Linked DNA regions of Homo sapiens: regions 1 and 2 are each linked to region 3. Evidence: promoter capture Hi-C in human tissues and cell types (Jung and others, 2019). All regions are on one chromosome and are shown on one strand. Each heading gives the region's core, a stretch centred on a gene start or on the middle of the fragment in contact. The rest is flanking DNA. Distances are from core to core; before and after follow the strand shown.

Region 1 (3,548 bases), core at 1,033-3,532, 360 kb before region 3:
GCCTCAGCCTCCTAAGTAGCTGGGACTGCAGGTGCGAGCCACCACGCCCAGCTAATTTTTGTGTTTTTAGTAGAGACGGGGTTTCGCCATATTGGCCAGGGTGGTCTCAAACTCCTGACCTCAAGTGATCCACACGCCCCGGCCTCCCAAAGTGCTGGGATTACAGGTGTAAGTGCTGGGATTACAGGTGTGAGTTACCACTCCTGGCCTTACAAAGAGCTTTTGGAGACTCAAAGAGACCTAAATTTTGGCTTCAGCTGATGTTTGTACTTGCTATATAACTTCACGTCAGCAAATGGGGAAGATATATCATATTTTTAGGAAGTACTCTGAGTTCATTGAGAAAAAGGAAATTTAAAGTATTTCCATAGGTGGAATTTCTAGAAAGTCACTTCGGTTGAACACTTGGGAAATTCTGCCCTGCCAATAAATATAATGTGGCAAGTATAGTGTTTTTATTTTCTGCTATTCTAGGATTTGTGCTGTCAAAATGGGGATTTGAGACTTTTTCTCTCCTGTATTGTTTTTCACTGAAAATTATGAGTACATTAATTTGTGCTTCAAATCCAAATTGTCTCATAGACATAGGTTTTACTCGATAGTCACTCCATTGCTCTATAGTTACCTAATTTCTCTAGCTGGAGAAATTGCTGATTTAGGGGTGAGTGTGGGTGGGAGTAATTAAGGTTTGTTTTTTGTCTCCCACTCTTAAGGCATATCCAGCAAATTGTCCTTCTGAAAAAATTAACAATTGAAAACATTTTATATGGACCAAATCCTGTAAGAATAAATGTCAGTAGATTACCCAAATTACTTAGCTATACTGGAACTTTATTTCATTAAATACAGTTTGAAATAAATGGGGCCTTGGTTAGGATTGAGAAATAATTTTTGTTTTATGGAGATTGTACTAAAATGAGATTTACTTGCAACTGGGGTGGGAGCATGGGGCATTGAGGAGGGTAAGGTGAGAGTGGTTATACTTATAACAAATTTACAACAGTAGGTGCCATGCCTTATGGTTTTATGATACACCAGCTCTTACTCTATTAGTGTATATAGCACTTTATTTTTTTATCCACAGTGTACATCATATAGATTTAGGAATTCCACACTTAAGTCTTCAACAAGTTTTTTTTAGGGGGATGGGAGAGGATGAGGCAGGATTTAAGGGGAAGAAGGTAATATAGCCAGTTTTGAAAATGTTAGCCATGGCTGGGCATGGTGGCTCAGCCTGTAATAGCAGCACTTTGGGAGCCCGAGGCAGGCGGATCACTTGAGGTCAGGAGTTCGAGACCAGCCTGGCCAACATGGTGAAACCCCCGTCTCAACTAAAAATACCAGGTGTGGTGGCGGGCACCTGTAATCCCAGCTACTTGGGAGGCTGAGTCATGAGAATCGCTTGAATCTGGGAGGCAGAGGTTGCAGTGAGTCAAGATCACGGCCACTGCACTCCAGCCTGGGCAATGGAGCGAGACTCTGACTCAGAAAAAAAGAAAAAGAAAAAGAAAAAAAAAAGTTAGCCAGGGTTAGCATTGGCATTAAATTATTATTACCCTTGTGACAACAAAAGAAATAAAGATGGTTTTTTTCTTTTGGCATTGTTCTGATGAGACTCAAAAGACCTTAAAAGGCTTCTGGTTTTAAAATCTGACAAATATTTATTAAAGGATTTTGAAAGCCCAGCTTGCTTTTTAAAAACTTCAGTTTAATTTTAAAAATAGATATACATTAATGTAAGTTTTAAAGGTACAAGAAGTACATGACAGTTTCCTTCCCTGTCTCTTAAAGGCCACTCAGTTCCTTTCCTACGTGGCAACTAGTATTACTGTTATATATTTCCAGAAATATTCTAAAGGATTGTTTTTGGAAAGGGAAAGTTGAATCACACTCATTAAAGTATTAGCACCAACTTGGATAGGTAGACTAATTGCAATGAAAAATCAGTTTGCGCCAAAAGCTAAAGATGTTAATAGTAGATGGAAGAACTATAATAATAATAGTTGCATTATTATGAGATTACAAGAATAGGATGGATATTTTTGCCTCATTTGGCATTTAGCAAGCTAGCAGGTCTTTTTAGCTGTTATTTTTAATATGGCTTACTCACTCCTGGAGACTGATGGAAAGATGCTTACCTAAATATTTCATTTGGAAGAAACCTATTTAAAGGAGCAACATTTTCTTTTCTTTTCTTTTTTTTCTTTTTGAGACAGTCTCACTCTGTCGCCAAGGCTGGAGTGTAGTGGCACGGTCTCGGCTCACTGCAGCCTCCACCTCCTGGGTTCAAGCGATTCTCCTGCCTCACCCTCCCGAGTAGCTGGGATTACAGGTGCCCGCCACAACGTCCAACTAATTTTTGTGTTTTTAGTAGAGACGGGGTTTCACTGTGTTGGCCAGGCTGGTCTGGAACTCCTGACCTCAAGTGATCCGCCCGCCTTGGGCTCCCAAAGTGCTGGGATTACAGGCGTGAGCCACCGCACCTGGCCGCAACATTTTCTTTCTGCTTGAATTTCAGTAGTAAACTCTGAAAAGTTTTTTCATTATGGAAAATTTCAGACTTACACAATAGAGAGAGAACCCCTCATTGCCTGAAATCCCTGTTATTTGACCTGTAACAAACTCAATGCTCCTTTGGCAGATAAGGAGAGATTTAGTTTTATATACACATTTGCATATTTTTTTTTTTTAGACAGAGTCTCGCTCTGTCACCCAGGCTGGAGTGCAGTGGCATGATCTCAGTTCACTGCAACCTCTGCCTCTCAGGTTCAAGCGATTCTCCCACCTCAGCCTCCTAGCTGGGACAACAGGCATGCGCCACCACACCCGGCTAATTTTTTGTATTTTTAATAGAGACGGGGGTTTCACCATGTTGGTCAGGCTGGTCTCGAACTCTTCACCTCAAGTGATCTGCCCGCCTCGGCTTCTCAAAGTGCTGGAACTACAGGCATGAGCCACCACGCCTGACCAATTCTTCAATATCTAACTCCATTTCATATTTAGATTTCCCTAATTGTCACAAACATGTCTTTTTATGGTTGGTTTACAATAATAACCTGCAAAATACAATTTTGATGGCATACATTGTTAGAGCTGATAAGAAAACAGTTAATCTAACAAGTGGAACAAATATGTTGATTGGAGAAGGCATATAAAGCAATTACCCAAGCCAAACAGGAATTCCAAAAATAAATTATTTTAAAAGTTCATTTTGAAGGATTTCTGCAACAATTATGCACAACACCGAAGCCTTCAGCATACATAGACCTCCCTTACCTAGTTTTCTGTGTACTTTTATTCTCACGATTAATATCACAGCTATGCATATTCATTTTTTTAAACTGTGGGAATGAAAGAATAAAGGAAAAAAAAGTTTGGAATAGGTTTCCTGAGAATGAAGGAACTATACTGAATAATTTGATAATTCAGCTTGTTGCTGTGCTCCTGCTATATAATATGACCTATTTCCACAGACTAACAATTGAGTTCTCTAATTACTTGGGGCAATACAGAACATGGAGTTTGAGGGGGAAGAAGAAAAATGGCAG
Region 2 (3,513 bases), core at 888-3,387, 300 kb before region 3:
AACAGGTTGTGCACGGCCTACACACATCATGTGTCATTATAAACAGAGGCAGCAACTGGAGAAACGTCAGAAGACTCACAAACAGCACAACAAAAAAAGCAAAGGTTTCGGGAAATACACTCAGACAATGCTACTTACTGTATAAATCTGTTTCATCAAGAATCTCAGATTTGATGATTTCTTCAATCACATCTTCTAAGGTGACGATTCCCAGAACTTCATAAAATGGATCCCCTTCTCCCTCATTGTTTACCCGCTGCACGATAGCCAGGTGAGATTTACCTTTAGAGACAAGAAAAAGTTTAGGAAGTGACTTTCTGAATTTTCTGAATGACATGTTATATGTGATATGGTAAAAACACCAGCAAACACAGATGTCGAATTATCAAAATCTCTGTTTCAGCATTTTAAAATGGTACTGAGACATCACAAACAAATGGAAGAACTTCAAGAGCCATTAAAAGGCAGAAAGTTACGCCAGAAGAGCGTCACCCTCCACATACATTGCACTGCACCATTGTTCTCTGCTTCCTAATGGTAATGTCTCTTGTTGCGTAACCTTTCGGCAACTGCCACCTAAAGAGAGTGGTTCTCAAAGTGTGGTCCATGGTGCCCTAGGGATTCCCAAGACCCTTATAGGAGGTCCATGAGGCCCAACTATTTTCATAAGAATACTAAGATGCTATTGGCTGTTTTCACTGTGTTGAAATTTGAACTGATGGTGAAAAGGCACCTTAGCACAGATGAACGTAGTGGGAGCAAGCTGCACTTAGTGAACACTGTTCTCTGTCACAACACACATGCAGTAAAGGGAAGGAAGTAGCTTCTCTTAAGAATGTACTTGGCTGGGAGCGATGGCTCACTCTTGTAATCCAAGAGCTTTGGGAGGCCCGGGCGGGAAGACCACTTGAGCCCAGGGGTTCACAATCAGCCTAGGCAACACAGTGAGATCCTGTCTCTACAAAAAAATAAACAGAAAAAGTAGCTGGACATGCAGGCCTACAGTCCCAGCTTCCTGGGAGGCTGAGGTGGGAGGATCCAGGAGTTCGAGGCTGCAGTGAGCTATGATCGAGCCACTGCACTCCAGCCTAGGCGACAGAGTAAGACACTGTCTTAAAAAAAAGTCCTTGCTGAAGCAGTAAACATTAATTTCATTAAATCCTGACCTGAGTACATGTCTTTTGGTAATCTGTATGACAACATGGGAATTGTCATAAAACACTTCTGTTGAATTCTGAAGTATGGCAGCCGTCCTGAGGAAAGACTCTTGTGATTGACTTGCAAGTTGGACTGGCCACTTTCATTGTTGAATGTTTTTACTTCAAACACGACTACTAGACAAACTATGGTTATATAGACTTGGGTATTTGTCAGGCATTTTCTCAAAAATGAACCTGTCACATCAAGGAAAACAATAGGCAGTGTGGACTGCCAATGATAAAATTTGAGCTTTCAACAGACAGTTAAAATTTTAGCTGGGTGCGGTGGCTCACGCCTGTAATCCCAGCGTTTTGGGAGGCTGAGGCAGGTAGATCACCTGAGGTCAGGAGTTTGAGACCAGCCTGGCCAACATGGCAAAACCCCATCTCTACTAAAAATACAAAAACTAGCTGGATGTGGTGGTGTGTGCCTGTGATTCCAGCTACTCAGGAGGCTGAGGTGGGAGAATCACTTGAATCTGGGAGGCGGAGGTTGCAGTGAGCCGAGATTGTGCCACTGCACTCCAGGCCTGGGCAACAGAGTGAGACTCCCACTCAAAAAAAAAAAAAAAAAATGCTGAGCGCAGTGGCTCACATTTGTAATCCCAGCCCTTTGGGAGGCGGATCACTTGAAGTCAGGAGTTCAAGACCAACCTGGCCAACATGGTGAAACCCTGTCTCTACTAAAAATACAAAATAAATTAGCCAGGTGTGGTGGTGCACGCCTGTAATCCCAGCTACTCAGGAGGCTGAGGCAGGAGAATGGCTTGAACCCAGGAGGTGGAGGTTGCAGTGAGCCAAGATCGTGCCATTACACTCCAGCCTGGGCAACAAGTGAGACTCTGTCTCAACAAAAAAGAAAAAAAAGAAAAGAAAATTAAAATTTTGGGAGACTTGTAGCCACGAGCGTAACAGCTTCTCAACAATTAAAGACTTTTCTGATGAGATTGCTGGTGATATTAACAAACGATTGTTAAAAATATTGAATATTGCAATCTGTCAACATTTTGAAGATCTGTATAACTCAGTGAACCAATATTTTCCAAGTGACTATGGCAATGTTACAAAATCATGCACGAGTACACAATCCATTTGGAGTATAAGACAGAACAACAGATTTTTAAAAATTCTTACTTTGGAATAATTTTAGATTTACAGAAAAGTTGCAAAGAGAGTACAGAGAGTTCCTATAAACCCTTCACCCGGTTTCCCCCATTGTTAACATCTTACACTACCATGATATATTTGTCAAAACTAAAAAATTGGCATTGGTACATTACTATTAAGTAAACTCCAGACTTTATTTGGATTTCGCTGATTATTTCTACAACATCCTCTTTGTTTTGTTGTCTGGTTCAGGGCACCACACCACATTTAGTTGTCATGTCTCTTTAGTCTCCTCTGGTCTGTGACAGTTTTTCGGTCTTTGCTTTTTATGACATTGACAATATTGAAGGGTACTGGTCAGGCCTCCTGCAGAATGTCCCCCGATTTGAGCTTGTCTGATGTTTCACCCATGAGTATACTGGGTTATAGGTTTTCTAGTTACATCAGTGGTTATATGACATCACTGCTGACATTCACCTTTTTCATCACTTGGTTAAGGCTGTGTTTCCCAGGTTTCTCCATTGGAAAGTTACTCATTTTTCCCTTTCCTTAATTCTATTATTTGAAAACAAATCACTAAGTCTAGCCCACCCATACAAGGGTGGGAGTTAAGCTCTACTTCCTGGAATATGGGAGTATCTACATGTATTATTTAGAAGGGGGAGTACCTGCATATATTATTCAGTATTCTTCTGTAAAGAAGATTTCGGACCAAACAAAGTTAATGTAAGAGTCCAAAGGTCTACTGGTATGGTTTCAGATTCTACATTACAACTAACCTTTAATAAATTACTATGTATGGAGTTTTGATGTAATATCAAAGGAGAATACCCATCACTGTCCAAAAAAGCTGATACTCCTCCCTTTTCCAAATACATACCTGTGTGAGGCCAGATTCTCCTGATATACTTCAACTAACACAGTATACTGCACAGACTGAATGCACAAGACTGAACCCAGCTGCCTTCCTTTTAGCTTGATTAGACATGCAAAAAGTAAAACAATGGCACTCTTCTACTGTTTGTTTTAGAAAATATTTTTATTAATAACACTATATTAGCAAGCAATGGATTATTGTCCTTTAAATCAACCAATGTTTTGAAGGTCTCTGTTTTAATTCAAATACAGTAAATATCAAAAGATAGAACCCACATAAATAAAAGGATCCTCAATCATTTTTAAGAGTTTCAAGGGGTCCTGAGACCAA
Region 3 (3,379 bases), core at 798-3,297:
AACAGACATGTGCAAAGGAAAAGTAAATTCTGTATTTACTATATTCTATATTTTGTTGTCAATACCTATACTTAACTTTACTGGTCCTGAGGGCTATAACATTTCTAGTAAACAAAAAAAATATATTTCTTCTGCCAGTTTATGATTTCCACTGGAAAAACAACCCCAACAAAGGCTAAAACAGAAGGGTCCCAACCCTCGAAAAGGGAATACACTGGGCTAGAAAATGAGCTACATTCCTTTCACATGGTATTTCTAGTATACACAAACATATCCTGAGGAAAAATTAGACACTTCAATGCATAAATAAATTGTGGTTTACAGATAACAGAATGTTACTTGGTCATGAACAGGAATGAAGTACTAGTACATGCTACGATGTGGATGGGCCTTATAAACATTACGCTAAGTGAAAGGAGCCAGGCACAAAGACCACATATTGTAGGATCCCGTTTATATAAAATATCCAGAATAGATAAATCCATAGAGACTGAAAGCAGACGGGTGGTTGCCAGGGGCTGGGGGAAAAGGGAGACAGAGAGTAACTGCTTAGTAGGGACGAGGTTTTCTATTGGGGTGATGAAAATGTTTTGGAACTAGATAGAGGTGGTAGTTGCACAACATTGTAAGTGTACTAAATGCCACTGAATTGTTCACTTTAAAATGGTTTTTGTCATGTGAATTTCAACTTATTTTTTAATCAGTATTTTAAAATAGAGGATAATGGGCAAAACAAGATGTATTTGTGAAAAGGCAGCCCTAAAACTCCTAGGGAAAAGATAAGTATTTTTGCTGGCACTCAGTTTCTGCTCTTGTTCACAACACAAGTTCAAGCGCTAAGTTGTATAAACTTTGCCACTACGCTATGCGTCTATGTGTGTATGCCTTTCTGAAAAAACGGGGAAAAGAACAGAAAGTGAAGAAAAAAGAATCATAAAGCTTTGCCACATGCAAGGAAGGAGGGGTGATTGCCCCCACTGCACCCCACCCAACTTGGCACCAGGAGTAACGCTCCCATTAGGGTTTTGAAATGCCAGCTGGAGCTGGAATCAGCACAAGCAAGCTTCTCTGCCTGGATAAAGAGCAAGCCACCCAGCAAGAAAAGCTAGGGTGCTCCATTTGCTGCCCATATTGGCATCAGAACCACCCTCTGGTCAAAAGCCCTGAGCTGGCTCAGATCAGCATCCGTGACTTGCTCTCCCAGGCCAGCCAGCCTAACAGCAAGAGCTTGTTACAGCTCAAGTGTGCTCCTCCTCCTGAGGGGTTCCACTCTGTTTCATCCCACCTGCCTTCTGAGAGTCCTCCCTCCAACCAAGTGCGCCATGGCTTACAGATTTTAAAATGGGGCCAAGTCTCTCCCAGGAACATAGTAATTTTTTTTAAACGTACTAAGATGCCCTCGGAACTTTCCCCAGTCCATCCTTAAAGAAATATCCTCAGGATCCCCTCCCTCACAGGCCAACTCAATAGCCTGTGTACCCCTACACACACAGACGTACATACTGCATTACTGCCTGGGACACCTGCTCCACAGAGGGACACGAATAAGGCCCACATCCTCAGCTTGGCACCGCTATCCAGCCACAGTCACCCCAGCCCACCTAACCAACCTGCCGTCTCAAACGCCCCTCACTCGCTTGGCATCATGCCTCTGCCACCTCCTTGACACCAAAACTGTCACAGGTGTCCCTCAGCTAAATACCGACGCCCCTTTAGATCCTGTCCACGCCAGGCATAGACGCCCCTCTCGGGACCCCTCAACTCTTGGCAACAACACTCCTTCAGACCCCTCCAGCCAGGCCTCGACGACCCCCAGGACCCAACATGGCCCAGACGCCCCCTCCCCCTTACCTGCGGGGGTTCAGCCCTGGCTGACAAGGGGCTGGGCAGCGCCTGGAGGAGCAGGAGCGCCATGCCACCCAGGAGCCTTCTCCTCTCCATCCCCCTCCTGCTCCTGCTCCTCCGCCACGGCGCCGCCACCTCCCTCCTCCTCCTCCCTCTCCTCCTCTACCCTCTTCTTCCTTCTTCCCTTCTTTTCCTGTTTGACGCTCCCCTCCCGCTTCCGGCTCTGCTCCACCCCGCCCCGCGCAAAACACCCTCCCAGACACGCGAGAGACTCTCCAGTTCCAGCGCTTCATTGGCCTTTGCCCTTTGTCCATTGATCAATGTAGCTGTCGATCAAATATAAGTCCCGCCTTCCCCTGAAGACGAAGCGATGCAGCCAATAAAAAGTAGGAGGAAGCCGGACCATCTTGAATGCTGCGAAGAAGTGTAAAATTCGTCCCAACCCGCAGAGAGTGGCGGAAGCAGCTTCATAAGGGGGCGGGGCCACCCAGGTGGATGGAAAAGTCTATTTCTGATGTAGCCATCTTGAGTGTGGCGGAAGTACTAGTTTTCCAGTTTTCCACATCAAAAAAAGAAAAAAGGTTTAATGTTTCTCAAGGGTGTTGGAAAATAAATTATTCCTGAAAGGTAACCAGGCGCTCCTGAAGAGGAAAACAATTGCAATGTAAAAATATTTTAATGTCTTTTGTCTTGAAGCACAGCACTATTACCAGGATGCCTCTCTTGGTCTCAACTGCCCAAATAGCAGCTTAGGTCCGTTTGAATTCCCTAGAAGATAGTACCTTTATCTGAGGCATAGTGCTTCGTCACCCCAAGTTCGACGGACAAAATTCTGGTTCTACTTCACAAATTGCTCTGAAATCCATCATCCATTGCTTCAATCCATGTTCTTCTAGCTAAATACAAATGGCTTCCCTGCTGCCCTGCAAGTTGACAATTCTTCCTCTCAAATTTCCGCCACACACTACAACCATACCACATTAAACCAAATATTACTATATCATGGCCTCTTCTTTTAAATACTTCATCTACCTACAGAATAGAGAGTCCAAACTTCCCAACACGGTCCTCTCTGTGACTTCGTCCCTGTCTACTTCTCTTTATCTCACCTCTCACCACTACATTTTCCCACACATTCCACTCACACTGACCATTGAAGAGATGCCCAGTAACTTCATTTACATATTACAGATACAGTTCCCTGCTTACAAACTCCTAGCCCCATCTCCTTGCTGCTTCTTCTGGATTCTTGTAACACTTATATCTGCGTGCCTGGTTTGCAGTTTTTTGTACAGCATACCAGGTCTTTCTTCTTCTTCTTTTAAAGCCTATAATATCCTGTACAAGGCTCAACCAGAGCTTGATCAATGTTGGTAAAATAGCCAGGTGTGGTGGCTCATGCTTATAATCCTAGCCCTTTGGGAGGCTGAGGCAGGTAGATCCCTTGAGCTCAGGAGTTTGAAACCAGCCTGGGCAACATGGAGAGAACCCTGTCTCTACAAAAATAAAAAAACTAAATTAGCCAAATTAGCCA

What was found. Contacts are between HindIII fragments. The study calls those that stand out against the background at their distance.
Region 1: a fragment that was not itself captured here is called in contact with the fragment with the promoter of WBP1L in region 3 in 1 of the 25 tissues and cell types used here (aorta).
Region 2: a fragment that was not itself captured here is called in contact with the fragment with the promoter of WBP1L in region 3 in 2 of the 25 tissues and cell types used here (bladder and spleen).

Annotation. Positions count from the first base shown.
Region 1 is chr10:103,106,814-103,110,361 of GRCh38, reverse strand. The region is part of intron 4 of NT5C2 (5'-nucleotidase, cytosolic II); the gene reads left to right. Among named protein-coding and RNA genes, the nearest start is that of NT5C2, 85 kb to the left of the region's middle. The HindIII fragment of the contact is 5,100 bases long and covers 1-3,548 here.
Region 2 is chr10:103,046,476-103,049,988 of GRCh38, reverse strand. It overlaps CNNM2 (cyclin and CBS domain divalent metal cation transport mediator 2), which reads right to left. Exons shown (of 8, transcript NM_017649.5): 2 at 139-282. Among named protein-coding and RNA genes, the nearest start is that of CNNM2, 130 kb to the right of the region's middle. The HindIII fragment of the contact is 8,929 bases long and covers 1-3,513 here.
Region 3 is chr10:102,742,616-102,745,994 of GRCh38, reverse strand. It overlaps WBP1L (WW domain binding protein 1 like), which reads right to left and starts at 2,047. Exons shown (of 4, transcript NM_001083913.2): 1 at 1,852-2,047. The coding sequence starts at 1,941. It overlaps SFXN2 (sideroflexin 2), which reads right to left. Exons shown (of 12, transcript NM_178858.6): 12 at 2,503-3,379. RefSeq lists enhancers at 1,181-1,410, 2,351-2,400 and a silencer at 1,911-2,070. The HindIII fragment of the contact is 7,220 bases long and covers 1-3,379 here.